5 separate regions of the Homo sapiens genome follow, and all the other regions are linked to region 4. Evidence: promoter capture Hi-C in human tissues and cell types (Jung and others, 2019). All regions are on one chromosome and are shown on one strand. Each heading gives the region's core, a stretch centred on a gene start or on the middle of the fragment in contact. The rest is flanking DNA. Distances are from core to core; before and after follow the strand shown.

The links. Contacts are between HindIII fragments. The study calls those that stand out against the background at their distance.
Region 1: a fragment that was not itself captured here is called in contact with the fragment with the promoter of SLC19A1 in region 4 in 1 of the 25 tissues and cell types used here (dorsolateral prefrontal cortex).
Region 2: a contact is called between a fragment that was not itself captured here and the fragment with the promoter of SLC19A1 in region 4, in 1 of the 25 tissues and cell types used here (mesendoderm cells).
Region 3: a fragment that was not itself captured here is called in contact with the fragment with the promoter of SLC19A1 in region 4 in 6 of the 25 tissues and cell types used here (H1 embryonic stem cells, IMR-90 fibroblasts, aorta and 3 more).
Region 5: a fragment that was not itself captured here is called in contact with the fragment with the promoter of SLC19A1 in region 4 in 5 of the 25 tissues and cell types used here (H1 embryonic stem cells, IMR-90 fibroblasts, aorta and 2 more).

Annotation. Positions count from the first base shown.
Region 1 is chr21:45,801,482-45,807,543 of GRCh38, reverse strand. The region is part of intron 4 of PCBP3 (poly(rC) binding protein 3); the gene reads right to left. Among named protein-coding and RNA genes, the nearest start is that of PCBP3-AS1, 32 kb to the left of the region's middle. The HindIII fragment of the contact is 9,548 bases long and covers 1-6,062 here.
Region 2 is chr21:45,267,567-45,273,086 of GRCh38, reverse strand. It overlaps POFUT2 (protein O-fucosyltransferase 2), which reads left to right. Exons shown (of 9, transcript NM_133635.6): 7 at 3,068-3,248; 8 at 5,374-5,497. Among named protein-coding and RNA genes, the nearest start is that of POFUT2, 18 kb to the left of the region's middle. The HindIII fragment of the contact is 5,405 bases long and covers 1-5,113 here.
Region 3 is chr21:45,880,997-45,886,354 of GRCh38, reverse strand. All of the region lies in intron 5 of PCBP3 (poly(rC) binding protein 3), which reads right to left. Among named protein-coding and RNA genes, the nearest start is that of PCBP3-AS1, 47 kb to the right of the region's middle. RefSeq lists an enhancer at 4,976-5,358. The HindIII fragment of the contact is 4,995 bases long and covers 945-5,358 here.
Region 4 is chr21:45,539,145-45,545,033 of GRCh38, reverse strand. It overlaps SLC19A1 (solute carrier family 19 member 1), which reads left to right and starts at 2,594. Exons shown (of 6, transcript NM_194255.4): 1 at 2,594-2,666. RefSeq lists silencers at 2,321-2,400, 2,441-2,750, 3,101-3,160 and an enhancer at 1,954-2,466. The HindIII fragment of the contact is 13,138 bases long and covers 1-5,889 here.
Region 5 is chr21:45,850,880-45,856,212 of GRCh38, reverse strand. All of the region lies in intron 5 of PCBP3 (poly(rC) binding protein 3), which reads right to left. Among named protein-coding and RNA genes, the nearest start is that of PCBP3-AS1, 17 kb to the right of the region's middle. RefSeq lists enhancers at 231-906, 907-1,583. The HindIII fragment of the contact is 8,241 bases long and covers 1-5,333 here.

The DNA.
Region 1 (6,062 bases), core at 3,035-5,534, 260 kb before region 4:
TTTGTGTCCTCTCTTATTTCCTTGAGCAGTGGTTTGTAGTTCTCCTTGAAGAGGTCCTTCACTTCCCCTGTAAGTTGTATTCCTAGGTATTTTATTCTCTTTGTAGCAATTGTGAATGGGAGTTCACTCATGATTTGGCTGTTTGTCTATTATTAGTGTAGAGGAATGCTTGTGATTTTTGCACTTTGATTTTGTATCCTGAGACTTTGCTGAAGTTGCTTATCAGCTTAAGGAGATTTTGGGCTGAGATAATGGGGTTTTCTAAATATACAATCATGTCATCTGCAAACAGAGACAATTTGACTTCCTTTCTTCCTATTTGAATATCCTTTATTTCCTTCTCTTGCCTGATTGCCCTGGCTAGAACTTCCAATACTATGTTGAATAGGAGTGGTGAGAGAGGGCATCCTTGTCTTGTGCCAGTTTTCAAAGGGAATGCTTCCAGCTTTTGCCCATTCGTGTGATATTGGCTGTGGGTTTGTCATAAATAGCAGAAATCAGTTTTGTTTTAAAGCTGACTTTCTTGAAAGGAAAATGGGCAATGCAACACAAATATAAAATTAATGAAAAGCCACAAGGGTTTTTCTAAATCCTGGAGTGTGCAGTGTCCACAGAGAGTGAGTGCTGCATACAGGAGCCAATGACAAGGAGCTCGGAGCATCTGATGAGAAAGAACAAGAGCAAGGCAGGGAGGCCGGCATCTGGAGAGGGCAGAGCCCAGTGCCTCAGTGCTCTGGGTGAGGGGACCAGAAGTGGAATTCTGAATGCAGGCTGCTCCTTGGCCCCAAAGAGATGTTCCGTGGGGTGTGGGGACTCTGCGGCCTGGGTCCCTGGCCCTTTGGGGTCTGCTTTGTGGAGGACTCTTCACTAGAGAGGCCCTGGCTGGTCCCCATGACTCAGCTCCTCATTCTAAAAAAGAACGATGAAATACCCACCTTTCAAGGTTGTGAAAAGTACTCTGTAATTTGCAAAGTGCTACACAAATGAGAGAACTTCAAGCCTTATTTTCCCAGCATAATTCTAGAGTAAAAATACGAGATAAGAAAAGGGGACAGAGAAAAGTAGGAGGACTGCATTGGCCATATTGTTCTGAAGGCATCCAGGGCCACATTGAGCCAGGGTGCGGTTATGTGCCAGTGGATCTGAGAAGAAAGGAGGACTTGGCCCTGTACTCCAGGAAGAACACGTCTCCTGGCCTCACCTCCACTTCCCTTTCTGTGCAGTGAGGGGTAGCTGGCAGCAGCCCTCAGCTCCCACCCTGCTCGAGTCTCTGCATGCACTTGGCCAAAGGGCGGAAAGGCCGCCGTTCCATCCAGCACGGGAGTACAGCCACTTGTCCGCACCAAGCCTGCCACGAGGGTGATTCTGCGATTCTGCAGCCGGGTGGCTTTGCTGGGGTCTTCCACACTCTGTGCAGAGCTGCTGGTCCTCAGACACATCACACCTGCTCTCTGCCCAGTGATAACCCTGGAGGCAGCAATGACTCAGAAGCTGAAGAAAAAACATCCCAACATGACATTCGTGTGGACCGCCCTCTCTAATGCTGAGACACAGCAGCACAAGGAGGCTCCTCCATCTTCTCATGCAATGGGAACCTCACAGACTCCTGGGTGGAGAGGCCTGGACTTCCCCTCATGGCCCGCCCCCCCAGCTCTGCTCTCGCCCTCCTTTCCTCAGGACCATCCGAGTGTGCAGGTGCTAGGAGGGAATGCCACCTTCGCTGCCACAGAAAGACAGGAGCGCGCTTTCCTCAGGACCACTCCAGTGTGCAGCTGCTAGGAGGGGATGTCACCTTTACCACCACAGAAAGACAGGAGCATGCCTGCAAGCTCAGGTGCAGGGATGAGCTGCCAGCAGCAACGGCTGGTCCTTCCAGTCACACTCTCCCTGTGAAAATGTGCTTGCCCCAACTGTTGACACAAAAGCAGACAGGAAGCATTATCTTCAAGGTCCCCTAGCTCGATTTTAGGCACCTGTATGTGCCGTTCTGCCACACTGCCCACAAGGCCTCTGAGCACCTCGTTGGCACCAACCCAGGTGGCCCCACTCTGCTGGTGGGAACCTTGAGGCAGTGGATAAGGGAAGACAGGGGGCTCCAGAAGGAAGGGCTGCCCATGGCCACCTCCGCACGGCCCAGCACACAGGGCAGGTGGGCAAGGGGGGTGCCAAACCCCTGCTTGTTACCAGTCACACCCACCCATAATCTTCCAATTACTTTCCCCCCCAGACACCACCTGGGGGGTTTTCAGCTCCCCCAAGCAAATGACCAGAGAGTCACACAAGAATGCCTCTTCCTATAGAAGGTAGGCTTCCGGGGAACAGCCTTAGACCCTGCCATGGGGGCCAGGCCACAGGGGTGTGGCTGTGGCATAGTGCCCGGCTAGGAAGCGCCATATGTGGTAGCCATGGCCCAAGATGACGATGCCCAGAGTGGCACAGGCCTTCCCACACACGGCCTGGGGCTGCACGGCTCTCCCCACAGCAGGGCTGTGCCATCACCACGGGATCAGGCGGTCACAGCATCCAGGCAGTGGGAAGCCTTTATCTACGTCACTGACACCCTCCCGTGAGGCCCATTTCACAAAAGCACAGGGCCTGCCACGGCAGGGTTAGAATTTCAACCATGCCCAGCTCTGAGCTGGTAAGCCTGACTCCCAGGAACACGGCCTGGCCTTCCTGTGCTGCCTCTCTCGGGGGCAATCCTTCCTTCCCACCCCTCCTGCTTGTGGTGGCAGCAGAAGGACAGGCCCAAGGTGAAAACCGTCATTCACACACAGGAGGTTTCAGAAACTATCTTCATGTGGCTAAAACTGGCCAACACTACAACCCAAGTGACTCCTGAAAGTCACTGTGATTTCAGGAGCCGAATGCCTGGTGCGTGGACACATCAGCAGGACAGCAGGGACTGGGGAAGCAGCAGTCCTGGTAAGGACAACAGAGCCCAGGCAATGGACCAAGGGACACTCAGGGTCAGGGGGGTGCAGAATAAATACAAGTCTTTCATAAGCAAATGCACACATTTTCACCAAACATCTCCCCCAAGACTAGGATCTTCAGTAAGCTCCCCGGCTCATTTCCATGGCTTTTGGTTTTGCCAGTTAATCGTGCTGTTTCACATGGTTTGATATTGTACACCACCTCAAAGCCTTTCAAATAGCTGGAGTAAATCAATATAATCTACATGGATGGTGTGGGCACTAGGAGGCAAAACATTTTATACCATTTTTATTAATAATAAGTTACCAAGATGACAAGATATTGTACCACTAATTCTAAAAACAGAATCCCTCCAAAGGAGTACTGTGAACACGCCAGAGCCTGCAGCACAAAGCCCGGTGCACAGGAGGGAACCAACGTGTAGGTGCCAAGCGAAACAGCAATGGGGTAAAAAACACTACAGCCACGCGGGCAGCAGAGAGGGAGGCGCGGCAGCAGGCAGTGGGCACCTGTGGGCTGGGCCTCCTGTTCCAGGCAGACAGCCACCTCCCCTGGAGGCCCACAACACCACAGATGAGGAAGAGAAGCACCACAGATGTCTCAAGGATGTTCAGTGCCAGGACGCCCCCAAGGCACCTGCACTAAGGTCTAGGCGTCCTTCATCTCAGCGAGGGCACAAGTGAGATACAGCACAGTAACAACATTCATGGGAAGGGACTCAGCAGCCCACCCCAGCAGGACCTGGGCCATCCGGTGCCCTGGCACAGGGTCACCTCCCGAGGCCTGACTATGGCAGCGAGGCCACGGGGAAGCCATGTTCCAGGCTGTCACCATCTGGGTCCTGGAGAAGCTCAGGGGCCTCTTGGAGCCCATACTGCTCCAGGTTCCTCTGGGTTACCCCAGGTTCATGCCCAGCTTGGCAGTGCCCAGGGACCCTGGGGTGGGCATCAGAGCCAAGCACTGTGCAGGGCAGCTCAGCACACCTTCCTGCCCTCAGTGTCCTGTTTGCATTTAAACTTCATGGGAAAGCTCCCGGCACTGGCAGTATAAAACCACCACGGCTTTTTCCCGACCTAACAACAGACTGCAGGATTCTTGGAGAAAGGGTCATCCTTGGGTGGAGAGGCCTGGACTTCCCCTCATGGCCCGCCCCCAAGCTCTGCTCTCGCCCTCCTTTCCTCAGGACCACCCCAGTGTGCAGCTGCTAGGAGGGGATGCCACCTTCACCACCACAGAAAAGAAACAATAAAAACAATAAAAATGGCTGCTGTCATTGACCAAACCATTCTGGGGGTGAAAGGTAAACAAAGGTCAATCTGCTTATTTTAAAGCATGGCCAGCTGCATGTGCAAAAAACACACCAATACCCTTGCATGGCCACTACCCCCAGCAGAAAGGTGGGCTCTGCCACTCAGACTGTAGCCTCTGCCTCTGCTGAGAAAGTGAGGAGGGGACGCACCCACACAGCTGCAGGCACACCAGGCTGGAGGCAGAGACAGGCTGTTTTCTCAAGTTGCTTTGTGACTGACTTCCAACGAATAGATAAAGAATCAGAACAAGTGTTTGCACAACAAAACAATTTTTGTTTTCAAATTATGACTGTACAATGCAGACGGGAAATGTTATTTTTTATTGAAAACAAGAAAAATCATTAAAAAGAACTCAAAGAGATTCAACAGTAAATATATGAGTATCAATGAAAAATGCACCAAGACCTAGTGAGTCGTTTATACACGACAAGGGTTAAAAGCTTTTCCCTCCGTGGCCTGTGTGTGGTTTCCCTAGGGTTAGCCCTGCTCAGGGCCCTCGGGGACCCTTCCCATCCCTGCCTCCTCCCAGCACCAGCCCTGGAGGCCCTGCCTGGGGTCCTTGGGGACACGATGCCCCTCCTGCTCCTGCCTCCCTCAGGGCCTCTCCTCCCCATGAAGGAGAGGAACATCCCAAACACACAATCTGACCTCCTGCCCTGCTTAGAGCCCCACCATCCTCCCCCAGCCCGGTCCTCCTCCTCCGTCAGCCTGTCCCCATCTCTTACGTCTCCCAGGGGCTCCTGTCCCTTCTCCAGCATGGCTCACTTTTGCTCTCAGAGCCGTCTCTGCAGAGCCCTCTGGGCCACGTGCCCTGACACTCACACCACCTTGGGCAGCCCGGGCACAGGACAACGTAGGCACTCAGTAAGTACAATTGTTTTTAATGAACAAGCTAAGAAGAGGCGAGTGAAGGGAGGTGATGCCATCAGGGCTGTCTTGAAAGAGCATCCTGACCATGGAAGACAGGACGCTTCAGGAACACAGCAAGGGGTGGTGCTGACGCAGGGGCCGGACAGCTAGCTCACCCCCAGCCCCAGCACCCAGCTGTGAGCCTCTGCACCCAGCCCACTTGCATGACAGGGCAGAAACAGCGCCCAGCTGCAGAGCCGCTACCAGGAGAATGTGGGCAGAAAGAGCTTGCACTGGGCCAAGGCCTCTGCCCAGGATGGCATCCAAGGGGTCTGAGGGTAAAGGAGGGAGCCCCGCTAACCACCCAGCCCAGAAGTCACTGCTGAATCATGACGATGCCCTCAAGGAAGAGGAGGGGAGACCCCGAGAGCCACAGAGGGACAGTCAGTGTCACAGGACAACCGAGCGGCTCCACTGATGACGCTGAGATGTTCGGGAGGGATGTGCACCATGAGATCACAAACATGATTAACCTGCAGAATCTGATTAAACTGAGTAGATCATGGGGAGTAATTATATGGGTTTGGATCTCCACATACTGTTTTTCTATTTCCACACTGGATTATTTAACCTTGTCTTGCATGCACAAGCCAAATACTTGCTAATGCAACAAATTAGCAAATGCAGTGACAGGATCTGAACAGCACATACTGCCCAGAATTCCTTCCAAAGAATACTGCAGCTAAAGGCAGAAAATGAGCAAAAGGCATATAAGCAGAGTGCATCCAGGAGGATCTACTGAATCAAGTATGTCACAACAAGTGCGGCTGTGAAGGCGGGTCAGTGACCAGCACCTGGCCAGATGCTGTGAAGATGGGTCAGTGACCAGCACCTGGCCAGACGCTGTGGGCATGGCATGGTGGCCCCTCTCTGAAACCCATGTCAAGAAGAGCAAATGTACCAAGG
Region 2 (5,520 bases), core at 1,162-3,661, 270 kb after region 4:
CTTTTGTATTTTTTTGTCTGTTCATTTCAATTTCATTTAGTTCTGCTCTCATCTTGGTGGTTTTCTTCTGCTGGGTTTGGGTTTGTCCTTGTTTCTCTCATTCCTTGAGGTATGACCTTAGATTGTCTGTGCTCTTTCAGATTTTTTGATGTAAGCATTTAATGCTGTGAATTTTCCTCTTGGCACCACTTTTGCTGTGTCCCAGGGGTTTTGATAAGTTATGTCAGTGTTATTGTTCAGTTCAAAGAATTTTTAAATTTCCATCTTAATTTCATTGTTGACCCAAAGATCAGGAGCAGATTATTTAATTTCCATGTGTTTGTATAGTTTTGAGGGTTCCTTTTGGATTTAATTTCCAGTTTTACTCCACTGTGGTCTGAGAGGGTACTTGACATAATTTTGATTTTCTTAAATTTATTGAGGCTTGTTTTGTGGCCAATCATATGGTTTATCTTGGATAACGTTCCATATGCTTACGAACAGAATGTATATTCTGCAGCTGTTGCGTAGAATGTTCTGTAAATATTTTAGTCCACTTGTTCCAGGGTATAGTTTGAGTCTATTGTTTCTTTGTTGGCTTTCTGTCTTGATGACCTGTCCAGTGCTGTCAGTGGAGTATTGAAGTCCCCACTTATGTTGTATTGCTGTCTATCTCATTTTTTAGGTCTAGTAGTAATTGTTTTATAAATTTGGTAGCTCCAGTGTTAGGTGCATGTATAATTAGGATTGTGGCATTCTCCCGTTGGACTGATCCTTTTATCATTATATAATGTTCCTCCATCTTTTTTAACTGTTGTTGCTTTAAAGTCTGTTTTGTCTGATATAAGAATACTACTGTACTCGCTTTTGGTGTCCATTTGCATGGAGTATCTTTTTCCACCCCTTTACCTTAAGTTTGTGTGAGTCCTTATGTGTTAGGTCAGTCTCTTGAAGACTTTTGCCTCACAGCTTTCAGGTGGATTTTTTTCCATTCTGCCATTCTGTTTCTCTTAAGTGGAGTCTCTAAGCCATTTACATTCAACTTTGGTATTGAGGTGTGAGGTACTGTATTCTATTCATCATACTAGTTGCTGCCTGAATACTCTGTTTTCTTTCTTTTTCATTGCGTTGTTTTATATGCCCTGTGAGATTTATGCTTTAAGAAGGTTCTATTTTGGCGTATTTTGAGGTTTTGTTTCAAGATTTAGAACTTCTTTAACATTTCTTGTAGAGCTGGCTTTGGGAGTGGTGAATTCTCTCAGCATTTGTTTGTCTGAAAAAGATGATCTCTCCTTCATTTATGAAGCTTAGTTTTGCTGGATATAAAATTCTTGGCTGATAATTACTTTGTTTGTGGAGGCTGAAGATAGGACCCCAGTCCCTTGTAGCTTGTAGGTTTCTGCTGAGAAATCTGCTGTGAATCTGATAGGTTTTCCTTTATAGGTTACCTGGTGCTTTTGGCTCACAGCTCTTAAGATTCTTTCCTTCATCTTGACTTTAGATAACCTGATGACTGTGTGCCTAGGAGATGATCTTTTTGTGATGAATTGCCCAGGTATTCTTTGAGCTTCCTGTATTTGGATGTCTAGATCTCTAGCAAGACCAGGTAAGTTTTCCTCAATTATTCCCTCAAATAAGTTTTCCAAACTTTTAGATTACTCTTCTTCCTCAGGAACACCAATTATCCTTAGGTTTGGTTGTTTAACATAATTCCAAATTTCTTGGAGGCTTTGTTCATTTTTTTTACTATTCTTTTTTCTTGTTTGTTGGATTGGGCTAATTTGAAAACCTTGTCTTCGAGCTCTGAAGCTCTTTCTTCTCCTGTTCTAGTCTATTATTGAAACTTTCCAGTGTATTTCGTTTCTTTAAGTGTGTCTTTCATTTCCAGAAGTTGCAATTGTTTTTCCTTTAAGATACCTAGTTATCTGGAGCATTTTTCATCCATATTGTTGTTGTTGTTTTTTTTTTAATTTCTTTAAGTTGGTTTTCACCTTTGTCTGGTATGTCCTTGAGTAGCTTAATAATGAACCTTCGGAATTCTTTATCTGGCAATTGAGAGATTTCTTCCTGGTTTGGATCCATTGCTGGGGAGCTACTATGATCTTTTGGGGGTACTATAGAACCTTGTTTTGTCATATTATCACAATTGCTTTTCTGCCTGCTTCTCATTTGGGCAGACTACTTCAGTGGAAAGATCTGGAACTCACGGGCTACTGTTCAGATTCTTTTATCCCACGGGGTGCTCTGTGGCGCTCTTCGCCTTCCCCTAGGGATGGGGCTCCCTGAGAGCTGGGCTGCAGTGATTGTTATTGCTCTTCTGGGTCTAGCCACCCAGTGGGGCTACCAGGCCCTGGGATGCTGCTGGGGAATGTCTGCGGAGAGTCCTGTGCTGTGATCCGTCTTCGGGTCTCCCAGCCATGGGTTCCAGCACCTGCTCTGCTGGAGGTGGCGGGGGAGTGAAGTGGACTCTGGGGGGGTCCTTGGTTGTAGTTTTGTTGAGTGCACTGGCTTTCTCGAATGCTGGTTATGCTGCAGTGAAGTTGTCACGTGGACAGACTCGGGACCTGTGGACAGCCAGGAGGTTGCAGGTGGTGGGATTAGCTGTTGCTTTCTCCTTCCTTGGAGCAGGGTTGTTGGTTAGAATTTGCTGTAGCCATTTGCGTTGGTGGCCTCCAGCCAGGAGGTGGCACTGTCAAGAGGGCAGCAGAGCATTCTGGCTCCCGGGGAGTTTGCAGCTGTGAGCTGCTTTGTCCACAGGATCCGTGAACTCTTTGTGGCACGTCCCTGCGGTGGTTCTCGGAGGAAAAGTTCACAGCGTGAGCCTCCACATGCTGTTCTCTTTTTAAATATTTTTCTTTACCTCAGATAAAATGATTTCTGGTAATTAATACTGCTTCACTGTCTTCTTAGAAAGACATCTGGTCGCCCCCGAGATTCCACCTGAATCCCTTAGACAGCCCTGGAGCCACCCCGTGGAGGAGGCCACATGGAAAGGGTCATCCCTCTGCGTCTCGAGTCCCACCCGGTGCCCAGGATGAGCCCCGAGCCCGCCTGTCAGCTTCTGCATTTCCTTGTGGTTCTTTGCTAGGTCAAGCTGGGCTCCGCGCTAGGGGGCCCCTACCTGGGAGTCCACCTGAGAAGAAAAGATTTCATCTGGGGTCACAGACAGGATGTACCCAGTCTGGAAGGGGCCGTGAGGAAGATCCGCAGCCTCATGAAGACCCACCGGCTGGACAAGGTGTTTGTGGCCACAGATGCCGTCAGAAAGGGTATGGAGCTTCAATGCTTTCGTTTCTTTCCTTTCTTTTAATTTATTTTTTTTATTGATAATTCTTGGGTGTTTCTCACAGACGGGGATTTTGGCAGGGTCATGGAACAATAGTGGAGGGAAGGTCAGCAGATAAACAAGTGAACAAAGGTCTCTGGTTTTCCTAGGCAGAGGACCCTGCGGCCTTCCGCAGTGTTTGTGTCCCTGATTACTTGAGATTAGGGATTGGTGATGACTCTTAACGAGCATGCTGCCTTCAAGCGTCTGTTTAACAAAGCACATCTTGTACCGCCCTTAATCCATTTAACCCTGAGTGGACACAGCACATGTTTCAGAGAGCACAGGGTTGGGGGTAAGGTCACAGATCAACAGGATCCCAAGGCAGAAGAATTTTTCTTAGTGCAGAACAAAATGAAAAGTCTCCCATGTCTACTTCTTTCTACACAGACACGGCAACCATCCGATTTCTCAATCTTTTCCCCACCTTTCCCGCCTTTCTATTCCACAAAGCCGCCATTGTCATCCTGGCCTGTTCTCAATGAGCTGTTGGGTACCCCTCCCAGACGGGGTGGTGGCCGGGCAGAGGGGCTCTTCACTTCCCAGTAGGGGCGGCCGGGCAGAGGCGCCCCTCACCTCCCGGACGGGGCGGCTGGCCGGGCGGGGGGCTGACCCCCCCACCTCCCTCCCAGACGGGGCGGCTGGCCGGGCAGAGGGGCTCTTCACTTCCCAGTAGGGGCGGCCGGGCAGAGGCGCCCCTCACCTCCCGGACGGGGCGGCTGGCCAGGCGGGGGGCTGACCCCCCCACCTCCCTCCCAGACGGGGCGGCTGGCCGGGCAGAGGGGCTCTTTGCTTCCCAGTAGGGGCGGCCGGGCAGAGGCGCCCCTCACCTCCCGGACGGGGCGGCTGGCCAGGCGGGGGGCTGACCCCCCCACCTCCCTCCCGGACGGGGCGGCTGGCCGCCCGGGGTGCTGACCCCCCCACCTCCCTCCCGGACGGGGCGGCTGGCCGGGCGGAGGGCTGACCCCCCCACCTCCCTCCCGGACGGGGTGGCTGCCGGGCGGAGACGCTCCTCACTTCCCAGATGGGGTGGCTGCCGGGCGGAGAGGCTCCTCACTTCTCAGACGGGGCGGCCGGGCAGAGACGCTCCTCACCTCCCAGACGGGGTCGTGGCCAGGCAGAGGCGCTCCTCACATCCCAGATGGGGCGGCGGGGCAGAGGCGCTCCCCACATCTCAGACGATGGGCGGCTGGGCAGAGACGCTCCTCACTTCCTAGATGTGATGGCGGCCGGAAAGAGGTGCTCCTCACTTCCTAGATGGGATGGCGGCCGGGCGGAGATGCTCCTCACTTTCCAGACTGGGCAGCCAGGCAGAGGGGCTCCTCACATCCCAGACGATGGGCGGCCAGGCAGAGACACTCCTCACTTCCCAGATGGGGTGGCGGCCGGGCAGAGGCTGCAATCTTGGCACTTTGGGAGGCCAAGGCAGGCGGCTGGGAGGTGTAGGTTGTAGCGAGCCGAGATCACGCCACTGCACTCCAGCCTGGGCACCATCGAGCACTGAGTGAACGAGACTCCGTCTGCAATCCCAGCACCTCGGGAGGCCGAGGCTGGCGGATCACTCGCGGTTAGGGGCTGGAGACCGGCCCGGCCAACACAGCGAAACCCCGTCTCCACCAAAACCAGTCAGGCGTGGTGGCGCGTGCCTGCAATCGCAGGCACTCGGCAGGCTGAGGCAGGAGAACCAGGCAGGGAGGTTGCAGTGAGCCGAGATGGCAGCAGCACAGTCCAGCTTTGGCTCCGCATGAGAGGGAGACCGTGGAAAGAGAGGGAGACCGTGGGGAGAGGGAGAGGGAGAAGGAGAGGGAGAGGGAGCACGTTTCTTTCCTTTCTTCTTGATCCCTGGTTCTGTTCTGGGTAGACCTGGAACTACCCAGATCCATGAAGATCTGCATGATCTTCAACTGTAATTCCTGGGAGGGTAAAGCTGAGTTGTGTGTCTGCACCTTTGGAGCCAGTTCCTAACGAATTAACCAGAAGCCAAGTACGCATGTCTGTCTGCTAAAGAGTCACGTATCTGTCCTTACTGGAGGATCCCGGTTCAAAGGGTCTCTCCTTCTACTTTGCAGAATATGAAGAGCTAAAAAAGCTGTTACCCGAGATGGTGAGGTTTGAACCCACGTGGGAGGAGCTGGAGCTCTACAAGGACGGAGGCGTTGCGATTATTGACCAGTGGATCTGCGCACACGCCAGGTGCCTGCCCACGTCACTGTCGG
Region 3 (5,358 bases), core at 2,193-4,692, 340 kb before region 4:
CTCACCACGTCCTCTGTCCTTGGCACCAGCGGCAATGAGGCCTCCTCCACACCTCACCACATCCTCTGCCCTTGGCACCCGCGGCAATGAGGCCTCCTCCACACCTCACCACATCCTCTGCCCTTGGCACCCGCAGCAATGAGGCCTCCACACCTCACCACGTCCTCTGCCCTTGGCACCCGCGGCAACGAGGCCTCCTCCACACCTCACCATGTCCTCTGTCCTTGGTACCAGCGGCAATGAGGCCTCCTCCACACCTCACCACGTCCTCTGCCCTTGGTACCAGCAGAGGCCGAGTGGAAAGCCTGGACTTTCACTTCTTGTTTCCCCTGCTGGAGAAGTATCAGAGGCAGCCAGCTAAACAGAAGGTTTATATAACCAGAGTCTCATAACGTAATATCCAGAAGGTCCAGATTTCAAAAAGAAAATCACCTGTTATACAAAGAACCCAAAAGATCTCAAACTGAATGAAAGACAGTGTCAGCCCCAGGATGACAGAGCTGTCGGAATCCTCTGACAAAGAAGTGAAAGCAGCCTTCATAAAAATGCTTCAGCAAACAAGCAGGAACACTCTTTAAACAAATGAGAAAACAGAATAGAATACCTCCACAGAGAAGCCAGTTCCCACCAAGCTAATGGGAGATGCAGGCAACTGAAAGGGAACGACAGAACTAGAAAGAACCATAACAGAGTGAAAGAGTCAGGGGAGAGAAGCAGGGAGCTGTGAGAAAAAACAACAGAAAGTACCCCGTCCCAACAAGAGGGAGAACACAGACCGAAGACACACAGATGGGGCCCCTGAGACCTGTGGGACATGGGGAGGACCTAACATTCATGTCCTTAGGGTACCAGAAAAAGAGAACAAAGGGGATGGGGATAAAGGCTCTTGAAAAAATAATGGCTAAAACTTCCCAAATTTGGCAAAAAGTAAAAACCTACATATTTGAGAAGCTGAGTAAACCCCAAACAGGATAAATCCAAGGAAATCCACACAAACACACATTGTAGTCAAGAGTCTAAAAACCAAAGGCAAAGAATAATTCTTGCAAGCAGCAAGAGGGACATGACCCCATGCTACAGGAGGGAGACAATGGATGGCGTGGATTTCAGGCGAGAAGCACGGAGGCCAGGAGGACGTGGCCCCGAACTGCTCAGTGCTGAAAAGGACAGAAGTGCCAACTGGAATGATATATCCAGTGAAAATAATCAGGAATAAAGACATTATGGGATGAAGGAAAATGAAGAGAAGTTGCTGCCAGCGTGCCTACGCTGGGAGAAGGCCTAAGTCCTCTAAACAGAAATGAAATAATGATGAAATCTTGGAATATCAGGAAGGAAGAAAGAACATAGTAGGCAAACATGTGAGTGCATAGAAAGGCTTCACTCTCGAGTCCTCTAAACTATGATTGATGACTGATGCAAAAATTACAGCATTGTCTGATATGTACAGAATGCTTAGGAAATATTTAAAGCAACTACATCATAAATGAGGGACAGTAAAAAAATTATAAAGGAAGTTACAGTTTCTTCCCTCCAACTGGTGAAATGTTGACAGCAGTAGAATTGGTAACACATATATGCCTGGGCAACATGGCAAAACCCTGTCTCTACAAAAAAATTTAAAAAATTAGCTGGGTGTGGTGGTGCCTGTCTGTGGTCCCAGCTACTGGGGAGGCTGAGGTGGGAGGACGGCTGGAGCCTGGTTAGTCGAGGCTGCAGTGAGCCATGATCGTGTCACTGCACTCCAGCCTGGGCAACAGAGCAAGATCCTGTCTCAAACATTATACATGCACACACACGTGACATATATGTATATTTAGATGTGCATGCATGTTGCATATGTGTATGTTATATATGTGTATGTATACATGTGTATATACATGTGCTACATATATATATTTGTGTGTGTATATATATGCTATATACTTAGTATTCAGTATGTGTGTATATATATGATATACTACCTACAGCAAGCACTAAAAAAGAAAGCCATACAGATATATACTCTAAAATGCTACTGATAAAATAAAATTCCAAAAAAATGTACACTGACTCACAGGAAGAAAGAAAAAACTAAAACCAGAGAAACAAAAAACAAAGCCAACAAAATTAAAAATGAGGCTGGGTGCGATGGCTCACGCCTGTAATCCCAGCACTTTGGGCGGTCAAGGTGGGAGGATCACTTGAGCCCAGGAGTTCAAGGCCAGCCTGGGCAACACAGGAATACCTAGTCTCTACAAAATATAAAAATAAATTGGCTGGGCATGGTGGTGCATGCCTGTGGTCCCAGCTGCTTGAGAGGCTGGGGTGGGGGGATCACTTCAGCCCAGAAGAGGCTGCAGTGAGCCATGATCACACTACTGCACTCCAGCCTGGATGACAGAGTAGGGCCCTATCTCAAAATAAATAAATACAAAAGATAAATAAAAGGTGAAATGGCAGATTTAAGCCCTAACATCTCAATACCGTAATAACTTTAAGTATAAATGGTCCAAATACACCAATTGAAGCACAGATGGGCAGAGTGGATTTAAAAATATGACCCCATCATATGCTGTCTACAGAAAACTCACTTCAAATAGAACAATATAAGCAAACTGAAGATAAACTAATGGGAAAAGGCGTATCGTGCAACCATTAATCAAAAGAAAGCAGGAATGGCTATATTAATATCGGAAAAAATAGACGTCAGAGCAATGAAAATGATCAGAGACAGAGAAGGACATTACATAATGATAAAAGAGTCTAAATAAGCAATAGCAATCCTAAATGTGTATGAATCAAATAACAGAGCTGTAAAATATGTGAAGCAGAAACTAATAGTAGTGAAAAGAAAAATATAAAAATCCACAACGACAGCTGAAGACTTTATTACTGTCAACAACTGAAAGAACCACTGGGCAGAGAATTAGCAAAGGATTTGGAAGGACTCAACACCATCAACCAACGGGGCCTAACGAACACTTCCGGAACACTCTGTCCAGCATCAGCAGAATCCACACTCTCTTCCTGCATGTACAGAATCTATACCAGGATAGACCATACCCTTGGCCATAAAAGAAACCTCAGCAAATTTAACAGAATTGAAACCGTAGTGTATGTTCTCTGACCACAGCTGACTCAAACCAGAATCAATCATGGAAAGATAACAAGAAAAGTTCCAAGCACTTGGAAATGAAACACATATATGAACAATCCAAGGGTCAAAGAGGGAATCTCAAGGAACATCAAAAAACACATTGACCTGAATGAAAATAAAAACACAGCATATCAAAAATCGCAGGACACAACTACAGCAGTGCTGAGAGGGAAACCTGTGGCACGAAACACACACATTTGAAGAGAGAAAAGCTTCCAATCAATAATCTAAGCACTCATTTTAAGAATCTAATAAAAGAAGAACAAAATAAATCCAAGTAAGCAGAGGAATGAAATACTAAAGACCAGAACTTGGCGCTGGTGTAAGAACGACATGCAGGCCGGTGGAGGAGAGCGGAGAGCCTGGCAGGAAACCCCGCAGCTGCAGCCAATCCATCTACAATAAAGACACCAGGAACACACACGGGGAAGGACAGTTTCTTCAATAAACGGTGTTGGGGAAACTGGATGTCCCTGTGCAGAAGAATGAAATTAGACCCTCATCTCACACCATCTATAAAAATCAACTCAAAATGGGTTAAAGACTTAAATGTAAGATCTGCAACTGCAAAACCACTAAGAAAAAACACAGGGAAAAATTCCACGACACTGGTTTAGTTAATGATTTTTTTTTAAATATGGCCCTCAAAGTACAGGCAACAAAAGCAGAAAGTAGAGAAATGGGATTATATCAAACTGAAAAGCTTCTGCACAGCAAACAACAGAGTGAAGAGACAACCTAGGGAACTGGAAAAAAAACTGCAAACCATACAACATCTGATAAGGAGTTAATACTCAAAATGTGTAAGGAACTCAAACAACTCAATAGCAAGAAAACAAATACCAGATTTTAAAAAAATGGCAAAGAAACGGAATGGAAGCTTCTCAGAAGGAGACATACAAATGGCTAACAGGTATATGAAAAAGTGCACAACATCACTAATCACCAGAAAAATGCAAATTCAAACCACAATGGGATATCGGCTCATACCTGTTAGAATGGCTATTATCAAAAAGACAAAAGCTAAGTGTTGGTGAGGAGGTGGACAAAAGGGAACCCTTGTACAGTGCTGATGGGAAACTTAGTACAGTCATTATGGAGAACGGTACGGAAGTTCCTCAAAAAACTAGAAATAGAACCACCACAGGATCCAGCAGTCTCACTTCAGGGCATATACCCAAAGTCACTATAGTGAGGAGACACATGCAGGCCCGTGTTGATTGTGGCACAACTCACAACAGCCTAGATATGGTGGAATCAGCCTAAGTGTTCATAGAGAGACGAACGGATAAAGAAAATGTCACACACAGACATACACACAGAAAGAAGCCATGTCATCTGTGTCACTGCGGATGAACCTGGAGGACATTATAACAAGTAAAATGAACTGGGCACAGAAAGACAAATACTGCATGATCTCACATGTGGAATCTAAAAAAGTGCATCTCACAGAAGCAGAGGGTGGGAGGTGGCTGTCGGGGACTGCGGGGGGTTGGGGGAAATGGGAGCTGTTGGTCACTGGCACAAGTTCAGTTAGACGGGAGTCAAACAGGCTGGGGAGCTGCTGTGTGGCACAGTGACTATGGGTAAGAACAATGTATACTTGAAAATTGCTGAGAGTGATTTTAAATTCTTTATAGAGATGGGGTCTCTCTATGTTGCCTAGGCTGTTGCCTGAGGTAGGCAGGTCACTGGAGTCTAGGAGTTCAAGACCAGCCTGGGCAAAATAGACCCCATCTCTACAAAATGTTGAAAAAATTAGTTGGGTGTGGTGGAGTGCACCTGTGGTCTCAACTCCTGGGAGACAGGTGGGAGGATCACTCGAACCTCACCACAAACAAAGGTATGTGAGGTGATGGATATGTTAATTAGCTTGATTTAATAATTTCACACACAAAAAACATGAACACATAGAATTCAGCAATATACCACAAGAATTACATGCTATAACCATTCTTCCTGTGATGCAAGGCTGGCTCAGAGTTGGAAAATCTGTCTGTGTAATCTACCTTATTAACAGACTAAAGAAAGCACACAATCATATCAATGCATGCAGAAAAGCCTGTCACAAAACTCCATACCAACTCACGATAAAAATTAAAATGCTCAGAAAAAAACAGGAATAGAGGGGAACTCGCTCAGCTTGATGAAGGCCAGCCAGGAAAGCAGCCACAGCTGTGGCCCGCAGCTGGCCCAGGCATGTCCACTCAGGAGCACTT
Region 4 (5,889 bases), core at 1,345-3,844:
ACAACAGCACCAGCTGAGGGAAAGGGCTGCTCGAATGCCACTGCCTCCCTATGCTGACGGGGACCTTAACCACAGGGACAGCCCTGCGTCTCTCCAGCCAAGGCAGAGGACTGGCCGGTTGGTCTCAGAAGGCAGTGGGTGGGCAGGGTCCTCATTCTCTGGCAGAGATTTCTTGGGCCTGGACTATGGGTGCTAAGGCTGCCGGGGAGTGGGGGCCCAGGAGCTGGGGATGGGGCACTGCTGTGGGGTGGGCTGCAGAGCCCACCTGAGCCCCTCCAGGAGGGGAAGGGGTCTCTGCGGCCTGCAGCCCCCAGACATCACTGTATATGGCTGGAGCCTACAGGCTGGAGGGCCGGGATCCACACTGCTGGGCCCCTGCTGATCCCTCCAACCCAGGGCTTCTCCCAGGGACCAGCTCTCCCTGCCATCCCTGACGCTCAGGCACTTAACTATTTGACAAACCGATAATGAAACACGCAAGGACGGGGACCGCTGGAGGCTCGTGAGGGCCCAAGCACAGGATCCATTCCCAGATGCCAGTGTCACTCCCAAGTCACCTGCGTTTGTAAATCTCTATTTTGGGTGGAGCCCTCTGGAAGCCCACGCCCCACTGTCTGTGGCCACTCCTCGCAGTCCTCAATGGAGGTTTCTGTAAGTTCTTCACGAGTCTCCTGGCTCTTCCCTCAGAGCAGCTGCCTCTAGATTACAACTGCCAAGTGCTGTTGGTGGCAGAAGCCCTACCTCCCCACTCCGAAGCAGCTCCTGCAGGAAACCTGGGCCTTGTGTGGCTGGGGAACTCCCAGGACTCCTGCCACGCAGGGGGACCCGAGGGCAGCTTGGGCAGGCCCCTCGCGGCCGGGGGCGGATTCGCTCGGCTACACCTGACCGGAGAGACAGGTGAGGGACTGGTCTTTGTGGGTCCTGCGGGGTCCCCTTGGGGCTGTGGCTCCCTGCCTTGCTGTCTCCAGGCGGGAAGGGGGTGGGAGCCATCCTTCTGTGGGAAGGGGTCTAGGAGCCCCGCTGCTGTTCATCCCCACTTCCCCTCGGCTTCCTGGCCTGTCCTGCGTGTAAAGGGAGCAGGCTGCCCTGGCGAGCTGGCCCCATGGCTGGCTCCTCTCTGCCTGGAGGGAAGGAAGGGCCCCTCCTCCTCCGCGTTGCCCCTCCTGTCTTCCAGCAGGGCCAGGTTCTGCCCACCCGTGGAGAAGGCCAGTACAGGGGAGAGAGCCAGGGCTCCCACAAAGCAGGGGGTCCCTCCAGGTGAGGCGCTCCATCCTGTAGTGTTCCCTTAAATTCTGCAAGCTACCCCAGATCCCCCATTTCCAGCCAACAAATCCTTTTTAAGTTCCTTTGAGATTTGTTCGTGTGGCTTGCTACACTCAGGACTCTGGAAAGAAGGCCCAGGCCAGAGCTTTGGGCAGGCGGCCATTTAGGGCAAGGGCCCTGTGTTGGCTTCCTGGTGGGGTTGCCCTGCTGGTGGGCGGGAGACCAAGAGCACCCCCGCAACACCAGGAGGCAGGTCGCGGATTGTGCTGTCTACACTCCGGAAGGGGTACATTCCAGGGGCTGCTGCCCCAGACTCACCCCTCGCCTGGGACCCGCACTCTTGAGCTGTGGGTACCACGGTGGCCGTCCCCTTCTGTTCTGTGCAGTGGACTTCCTGGCTCCTCCTTAGCCTTGGGGCCCCCACAGCCCTCGGCTTGGCTTCCCTCCCCATAGCCAGGCCCTGGGTAACTCCAGGGGAAAGTGACCCTGAGGCCCCCCACTTCTCCCCGTGTCCTGCACAGGCCTTGGGCTTTCGGCGGTGCTGTCTGCCGCAGCCCCACGCCTTCCTGGGAGAGTGGCCCAGGCCCCCCTTCCTGAGTGTGACTGCGCTGCCGTCTGCGAGGCCTGCGCGGGTCTCCCCCGGGCTGTCCCTGCTGGGATGGGGACTGGTGGCCCCGGGCCACGTCCTGGATCCGGCTTGCTCCTTGGTACAAGCCCGTACGGGTCACGGTCAGGCAGGAGGGCGGGCGGCGGGGTCCCGGGGGCGCCGAGTTCGGGGCCGTGCGGTCCCCAAGAGCAGGCTGTGCGTGTCCCTGTTGGAGCCCCACGAAGGCGGCCCAGGGCCACCCCTGAGGGCGCGTGGGCCCGACCCGCGTCCCGGATCCAGCTTGCGGCCAGGAATGCAGGTGTTCCAGGGTGCCAAAAGGAAAACGCACAAGGCCTCGTCGAGGAGGGGGGGTCAGGAGGGGACCGGGGGTGGGAAGAACGCGGGGGAGAGGGATGGCAGGGTGCCCGCCCGAGGGACCGACACCTCCGCGAGTGGCACCCCAGGATGCTGACGCCGGCGGGGGTGGGGGCCCGAGGGGCGGTCGGGGTCAGGGGGCGGCCCCAGGGGTAGGGCCGCAGCACGAGGGGCCGCGTGACCCCGGCGGTGACCGGGTGGGGAGAGGCCGGCGCCGGGGCTGGGAGACGGCCGTGGGTGGGAGGGTGCCCCGTGGGGACGCTCCTGCCGCAGCGCCCGGCCACGCGCGAGGCCCCGCCCTCAGGACGCGTTCGGCGGGACGGACCCGCCCACCCCGCAGCCGCGCGCCCGCCGCGCCGCCTTGTGGGCGCTGTAGTCCCGGAGTCCGCGTGCGCGGGGCCGGGTCCGGGAGCCCCAGGGCAGCCGCCCCGCCGAGTCGCAGGTACCGGTGGGGAACGGGGCCACGGGGCCGCGTGTCGGGGGCTGCGGGGTGTCTCGGGGCCCTGGGGTGAGTGCGGGGCGCGGGCCGAGGTTTGCAGGGCCCTGTGAGGTGAGTGTGGGGGCTGGCGCTGGGGTCCGCGGGGCCCTGGGGAGGGTGCGGGGCGTGGGCCGGGGTCTGCGGTCTGCAGCCTGGGGTCCGCGGGGCCCTGGGGAGGGTGCGGGGCGTGGGCCGGGGTCTGCGGTCTGCAGCCTGGGGTCTGGGGGGCCCTGGGGAGGGTGCGGGGCGTGGCCGGGGTCTGCGGTCTGCAGCCTGGGGTCTGGGGGGCCCTGGGGAGGGTGCGGGGCGTGGGCCGGGGTCTCCGCGGGGGTCGCGGTGGCCCGGGCGCCTGGCAGAACCGTTGCTGTGCAGCGGGTTTCCCGCCGCTCGCTTTCCGCCGCAGCCTGCGAATGGGGTGGGGAGTCCCGGCCCCCAGCCTGCCCTCCGCGTCATCCTGGGGCGCCAAGTCCCACCCCCGGGTCTGGAGGAAAGCGTGGATCCGGCGTTCGCGCCCAGGCACGTGTTGCTTCGGGACGGGCCAGCCGGTGGGTGAACCCTGCCAGCCACGCGTGGGGCGGGCCCCTGGCACATCTCCAGACCATTGTCTCCTGTGCCAGAAGCTTTGTAGGTGCAACTTCCCCTTGGAGCAGCTGTGGGTGCGGATCCAGCGGAGCAATCCCGAGGCGTCTCAGAGAGAGCCTGGACAGCCGCTGGAGCCTTTCCCGAGTGGGTCCTTCCAACACCGCTACAGCAGGAAAGCCATCCCCCTAGGGTCCTGTCCATCGGAAACTCCTGTCCTGGGGAGTCTGGCCTGCCTGGCCTCAGGACACAGGCCAACTAAGCTGGCCCCGAAATCCAGAATGCATCCAGAGGGAAGGTGGGATAAAGTCCTTGGAGGCGCCTGTTGGCCGCCCTGTAAAGAGGTGGCCTCCCCCTACGGAGACCCGAGGATCCCCGCACAGCCCAGATTCAATCAGCAGAGCCGAGGTGCCTCTGGCCCAGTGCACCTGCCTGCCCTGTCCAGGCCTGGGAGCCAGGCTGCATCTCACTGGCCGCCTTTGCCTGGGTGCCACCTGTGCACTGCTTGTTGCAATTGCTAATTGCTTTCTTTCCGAAGGGGCTTTGGTGGATTTTTATAATTCCAGATAGTACAGTTATCTCTGCTGGACACAGATGAGAAAGAGTGCTTCTCGGGTGTTTGGGCCTGCAGCAGTGATAGCCGGAGGGTCTAATTATGCTGTTAGGAACCCTGAACTTGGTCATCTGAACAGGGGTGGGAGGGTGTGCAATGCTTTCTTCTTCTTCTTTTTAAACTAGCAGGCGTTCTAAAAAACATAACGAACATTCTTGGTTAGCCTTCCAGAGTAGGAGCTGGTTTAAACACGGAATGATAGGTGGCGTTTGCTTGTGTTTTGATTGCGGGTCTCTGGCCTTCTCTGGTGCTTGGAAGGACAGGGCCTGGGTGGGGCTGGTCACTGTGGACAGTGGGGCCGGGGATTTGCAGGGGCTGTTACAACCTTCTCCTGAAGGCAGGGATTCTCTCTGCTTCCCCGTGGCCCTCCTGTCTGGTCGGGGACTTCCTTCAGATGCCGGGAAGAGGCCTCAAGCTGTATGGGACTGGGCTGGGGTCTGGACACTTGGAGTCTAGGCGTCCCCTGGCTTGGGGCTGCGTTTCTATGATGGTGACCAAGTTCCCTATCTTTCCTCTTGGAGGTGGTCTGGGCCGTGATGGCCAAGCCTCTGTCAGTGGGCTACGTTCACGGCACATAAGTTGAGTATGCTGGCAGCAGAGGCTGACTGTTAAGACCAGCAGCAGCCCCTTGCTGGCGGAGACTCTGGCTGTCTCTCCAAGGAAGGAATGTTCTGGTCGCTTCTGGAGGTGGCACCTTTCAGAACAGGGGGCCCAAGTACCCAGGGCTCCCGGGCCCCTGGGGGTCCTGTGGGTGGGGATCTGACTCCTGCGGCCATGGACTGTGGGCGCAGACCCTGGGCTTAGTTCAGCTCCTGATGGCTCCCCGTTGTCTGCGGCGATCTGGTTGCTCTGGTTGTCTGGGGATCGGTGCGCCTGTCTAAACCTGCTGACAGGTGGGAAAGTGAACTTGACAGGGAGTCCCAGGGCCAAATGGGTCTCCCAGTGGGGAGGAGTGGGTGCGGTCTGAGGTATGTCCAGCTCTACCCGTGGCCTCTCTGGGCATCAGGGTCCCTGGTGATGGAGCCCAACCTTTGTGCACTGATCTTCCCAGCTGTTGACAGGCCCTGAGGAGGCATGGAAGGTGAGGCCGAGGCAGGCGACCGTCAGATCTGCCTCGGCCTGGCAGTGGCCCCTGCCTGCGCTTCCTCCTGCCTGGCCGGCTGTTTTCATCCTGGCCCTTTGAGAACTTCTAGGGTCCTGGCTGCCTCCAATGGAGGGTGCTGGTCCCATCTTCTTCCCAGCTGTGCCCTGCCGTGGAGCTCCGGAAACCTCGAGGTTCCCCTAACCCTTCCCCCTCTTCCCTGCGGCCCCCATTGCAAGCCCACCAGCCTCTGCCTCTTAAGGGCTTCCCTGCCATCACCTATGTTCCTTTGTCACAGACATGAGTGTGTAGAGGTGTCAAGACGGGACCCCAGATGATGCTGATGGCTTTGCCTAAGTGGCCTGGGGAGGGTCTCTCTCTCTGGTCCCTGAAGGCCACCTTTTTCCTAAGCCTGTGTGTCAGGTTGGGGGCGGTTCAGGGAGCACTTCCAGCCTGAGTGGTCTCTGATACGTGAAGACTGAATGCTGAGAGCCTGGGGCAGATTTTCCTAGGGGTCCCTGGACCCCCAAAGCTGGCCCCACATCGAGGGATGCTCTGAGCCCCTGCTGGAGGGTTGGAGGAGACTTCTCAAATCCAGACCCTCTGCAGACCCCCTGCCACCCTCCCAAGCCGGCCCTGTGGCGAGGCACAATTGTCCAACTGTCAGCCCAGTGCAGATGGGACGGCGACCCCGCCCCACAAGGCTGCTCAGCTGCCCTCTGCATGCGCTGCATCCCCACCCCACCTGAGCAGCAGATGGCCTTTCCACGTGCACTCTGCCAGGCCTGGCCTCCGGGAGCAGAGGTCAGCTGATACAGACGTGAGGTGCACCTGTGGGGGACCAGGGCCAGGTCCTGGCCTCACGGGGTTGGCTTGGTGTGGGCGTCTGACACACTTGTTTATGGCAGTTCACT
Region 5 (5,333 bases), core at 2,229-4,728, 310 kb before region 4:
TCCTATTCAGACCTTCACAAGGCACTAGACTCTCAGCCAGGCTCCTCAGGATTGGGAGGGTCTGGAAGGGGAAAGATCCAGTTATGTTAATACAGGTTCTTTACAGATGCAAACTTTCCCCCATAAAAGATGGCTTTGGAGGCCCATTTCAAAATATGGCAAATAAACATATTTTGGGGTAAAATATTTCTGTTTCCTACTTTATCTGTCATGTGATGTGAAGCCACAGTCAGATTGAAAAGCCACGTTATATTGGGTTAAATAAAACCTGTCTCATGAGATGTTACGGTTTGTACGGTGTGACTCCCCAGGCTCCTTAGATAGGAATTTGGGCAAGAGAGGAAAAAGGTCAGAGTTTAGTCCTCTCTCCAAGCCGAGCAACTTCCCTGGCAGGAGGTTTTCTGTCTCCCTGGGTTCCACCCGCCTGTCACCTCTGCAGCGCGTTCTGTGCCTGTGTGGGGTCCGGCCCTCAGGCCATCGGGCACTTGGATCCCGGGCAGAAGGCAGACAGACACGTGGGCCTGACCCCACACACTGCATGGCCTGCAGCACAGACCTAGGGTGGCGGGGTACGGAGGCAGCCTTGGGTCTCATTTAAATCCCAGAGAGAGCATTTATATCTCAGATGTAGGAGGCAACCGGCCTGGTTGGGTTCAGGCTTCAACTCTAAGGGGCTCTGTATGTGGTTCCCACGTTGGTTGTTTCGGTCTTTGCAGGGCTCTCCAGGCCTTCCCACGCATGCCCCCCTCTGTGCTGGTGGGGTGTGGGGTCTGGGAACTGGGCAGCAGTCCACCCCATGGTGCGGTTCTCAAGGTCTGTGATGGGCTGTTTGAGGGCGGATGTGTGTATGTGAAGCTGGGGATGAGTGTGGGAGAATGCCCAGCCCTCTCCGTGGGCTTCCGGAGCCTGCGTCTGTGCTGGCCTCCCTGTGCCTCCCAGATCCCAGGATTCCTCTTTTCCCTCCTGCAGTCGGGAAGCTCCAGCTCTGTGCACTGGCTTCCCAGGTGCACTCCTCCAGGATCAGCTGTGGGAAAGCGCAGAGAGAGAGAAGGCACTTGGGCATCGCTGCCAGACTTGGAGAGGAAGGCTCCCTCCCTCCGTGGTGGAGCCTGGGGGCCCCTGCGGACCCCCTTGGCCATTCCTGGCACCACTATTGTCGCCATAAGGCTGCCTAGGGTCCCCTTTCCTGCTCTTCGAGCTGTTCCGAGAGGCTCCTCCTGGAGCTCTCTGTCAGCTTTCTGCCATCTTCTGGGTTTCAGCCTGCTGTGAACTCAGGCAGGAGAGATCGTAAGTTTCCATTTCCTCCAGCACTCCTGCTACTTACTTCTCAGACCACTGCATTCCGCGGGGCAGAGGCTCGGAGTGCTTGCTCCACCCACCCAGAGCCCACACCCAGCTTCATTTCAGTCTCATCAAAGAGCATCTTCTCCTCACAGTGAACAATCCAAGAGGGAAATTAAGAAAACACTTCTATTTACAATAGCATCACAAAGAATAAAACACTTGAGATAGGCACACACAAGGGCACCGCTCCTAACAGCCAAACGGGTGAAGCCTTCCTGTCCACTGATGGCTGCAGTCTTTACATACAACAGGATATCGGTCAGCTTTCAAAAGGAAGGACATTCTCACACATGCCACAGTGTAGATGAACCCTGAAGACAGCAGACTAAAAGAAAGAAGCCAGATACAAACAGACAAATGCCATATAATTCCACGTGTAGCGGTCCCTAGAGCAGTCAGATTCCTAGAGACAGAGAGTAGGATCCTGGGTGCCAGAGGCTGGGGGAGGGAGGGTTTAATGGGGACAGAGATTCAGTTCAAAAAGTTGAGAAAGTTCTGGAGATAATGGTGGTGATGGCTGCCCAGCATATCCCTGAACTGTATGCTAAAAAATAGTTAAGATGGAAAATTCTATGTTATGTACATTTTACAACAACTAAAAATAAAAACAAAAATAAATTTTAAAAAAGCATGTGTGGTAGCTGACACACATGCAGGGCAGGAGGAGTCGTATTTGAGCCTGCAAGTCCAGGCTGGCCCTTGCATGGAACAAACCGCACAGCCTCTCAGGGCCCAGGTTACTGAGCTGTGAAACGTAGAGGCCTCATCCCACCCCTTCCATCTCTCTCCCAGGCCCAACTTCACACGGATGCTGCTCTTTGTGTTTCTTTGCGTTTTTGTCCCCCCCGCCCCACTCTTACCTTTTTGGAAATCTCTTCTCTTCCTAGCCTCGTGCACAGAGGCTGAGATGCGGATATCAGTTTATGACACGTCGGCACCACCGCTTCCTGGGAGCGGCTCCTGCCCCGTACCATCGGCTCCTTTTTATTCTCACCGGCCCTTATCACCACCACCTGCCACTGCCACCACGCAGGAGCCCATTCTAAAACACCGAGTGCCTGACTCTTACTCACATATGCTCTTGCAAAGTATGTGTGTATTTAATTTCCTATGCACGCGTCTGTACTCACACAGGCAGAATGGTTTAACACCACTCATGTTTCTTAGCTTTTTAACCCAGTGAGGCAGGAGAAGAGGGCCTGCAGGGAAGAAACCTAAGGTCTTCCTAGAACTAAATCAAATGCAAACACTTCAGCCATGACAGGAACACCCTCTCCATTCACAGGGGTGTACACCAAGTAACCAATGGAAACCTGCAGAGGGTATTGAAACCCCAGAAAATTCTGTCGCTGGGGCCCGTGAGCTGCTTGCTCGGGCTGCTCCCACCCTGTGGACTGTGCTCTCATTTTCAGTAAATCTCTGCTCTCACTGCTTCATTCTTTCCTTGCTTTGTTTGTGTGTTTTGTCCAATTATTTTTTCAAAACGCCAAGAACCTGGACACCCTCCACCAGTAACGCCAGCCCTGCCTTTAAGGGCCATTGGCACACCCAACCCACGGCATCTGGCTTCTGCCACAGTTAGGTTTTCACTCTTCTAGGCAGGGGCACTGAGGTCACCTTCCACCCCGACATCCACGGAGCACAACAAGGAGATGCTGTGTGCATCTGTCTCCATGAACCCGTGGAGATTTTGTCACCACAGAGATGCAGGACAGCATGCCAGGTCACAGCAGGCTCCAGAGAAGACATGCCAGCCCACCCCCTCTGGCCAGCGGCATGTGCACTTTCCGCATCTGCTCCCAATGCCTGGTGCGAGTCCACTGCCCGCTCCTGCTGGTCTCAGCTGTGGGAAGTGTACACGCCATGTCACTCTGCATCTCTCAGACAAGAAGTGAGTTTGCACATCTCTTCACCAGCCTTTTGTACTTCTTCTTCTGTAAACTGTCTTTCCGATCCTTCACCCATTTTTCTATAAAAGTTACTGTATTAGTTTACTATTGCTGATGTTACAAATTACATCACAAATTTATTATCTTCTATTTCCAGAAGTCAGAGGTCTGAATCAGATCTCACTAGACAAGTCACGGTGTTTACAGGGCTGTGTTCCTTCTGAACAAAAGTCACGGTGGCTGCAGGGCTGTGTTCCTTCTGAACAAAAATCAGTGTGGCTGCAGGGCTGTGTTCCTTCTGAACAAAAATCAGCATGGCTGCAGGGCTGTGTTCCTTCCGAACAGAAGTCAGGGTGGCCGCAGGGCTGTGTTCCTTCTGAACAAAAATCAGCATGGCTGCAGGGCTGTGTTCCTTCTGAACAAAAGTCAGGGTGGCTGCAGGGCTGTGTTCCTTCTGAACAAAAGTCAGGGTGGCTACAGGGCTGTGTTCCTTCTGAACAAAAGTCAGGGTGGCTACAGGGCTGTGTTCCTTCCGAACAGAAGTCAGGGTGGCTGCAGGGCTGTGTTCCTTCTGAACAAAAGTCAGGGTGGCTACAGGGCTGTGTTCCTTCTGAACAAAAGTCAGGGTGGCTGCAGGGCTGTGTTCCTTCTGAAGGCTTTGGGGAAATTTTCCCTTGTCTTTTCCAGGCCACGTTCCTTGCCTCGACCTTCGAAGCCGTCAGCTTTTTTTAAGCTTTATTTATAATTGACGCATAATAGTTGTACATATTTACAGGATACAGTATGATGTTGCAATACACGTATACATTATTTAATGATCAAACCAGGGAAATTAGCATATCCATCACTGTAAACATTTATGATTTTGTGATAACATTCAAAATCCTGTCTTCCAGCTATCTGGACAGACATATTATTATTAGCTATAGTCACCCTATTGTTAACAGAACACCAGAATTTACTCCTCCTGTCTAACTTTAACTTTGTACCTGTGGACCAGCCTCTCTTCTTCCTAGCCTCAGGGCTGGGGAGCTTTATTATCTATTTTCTGAAACAATCTGTGTAAGTTAGAAATCAAGTGTTCCTTAAAGTTAGGTATAATTCACCCATAAAAATGTGTCTGAGAACTTTTTTTGAATGGAAGTCTTTGATTGTCACTTAAATTTCTTTAGTATTATTGGCTTATCCAAGTTCTCTATTTCTTCTCAAGTCTATTTTGGCACTTCCTATTTTCCCAGGAAGTTATCAATTTCACCTATGTTTTCAAATGTGTTAGCATATGGTTTCCCACAGTACTCAACTTTTCTTCTTGGCTGTATCTATGGTTATTTCTTTACCTATCTATCTATCTATCTATCTATCCATCCATCTATATTTATTTTTATTTATTTATTCACTCATTCACTCCTTTCTATATTCTGTTCCATCGACTGTCACCAGTATCATCCCTTCACTTTCTTTCTTTTTTTTAAGACAATCTCACTCCATGGCCCAGGCTGGAGTGCAAGGGCACAATCTTGGCTCACTACAACCTTCTCCTCCCGGGTTCAAGCAATTCTCCTGCCTCAGCCTCCCGAGTAGCTGGGATTAAAGGCACACACCACCACACCTGGCTAATTTTTGTATTTTAGTAGAGACAGGGTTTCACCATGTTGGCCAGGCTGGTCTCAAACTCCTGACCTCTTGATCTACCCACCTCGGCCTCCCAAAGTGCTGGGATTACAGGCGTGAGCCACCACGCCCGGCCCTTCCACTTTCTTTAACCAAAGATCTAACTATTGACTCTAAAACACAAAACAGCTTTCAGGGCTGTGAATTTTCTGTTTTTCTGTGCTCTCTATTTCACTGATTTCTGCCTTATGGATCCTTGGGCTTTCTCTCTTGCTCTTTTTTCAGCCTCTTGAGTTAATTTTTCATGTTTCTTAACACGTGTTTATAGCTACAAATGTCCTTCTAAGCACTGCTTTAGCTGTGTCATGCTAATTTGGACATATACTGCCTCATAATCACTCAGCCCTAAAGTTCTTTTATTTCTTTTATGATTTTATTTCTAACAAGAGTTTTTTATAGCATATTATTTATGTAAGCTATTCCTTTACT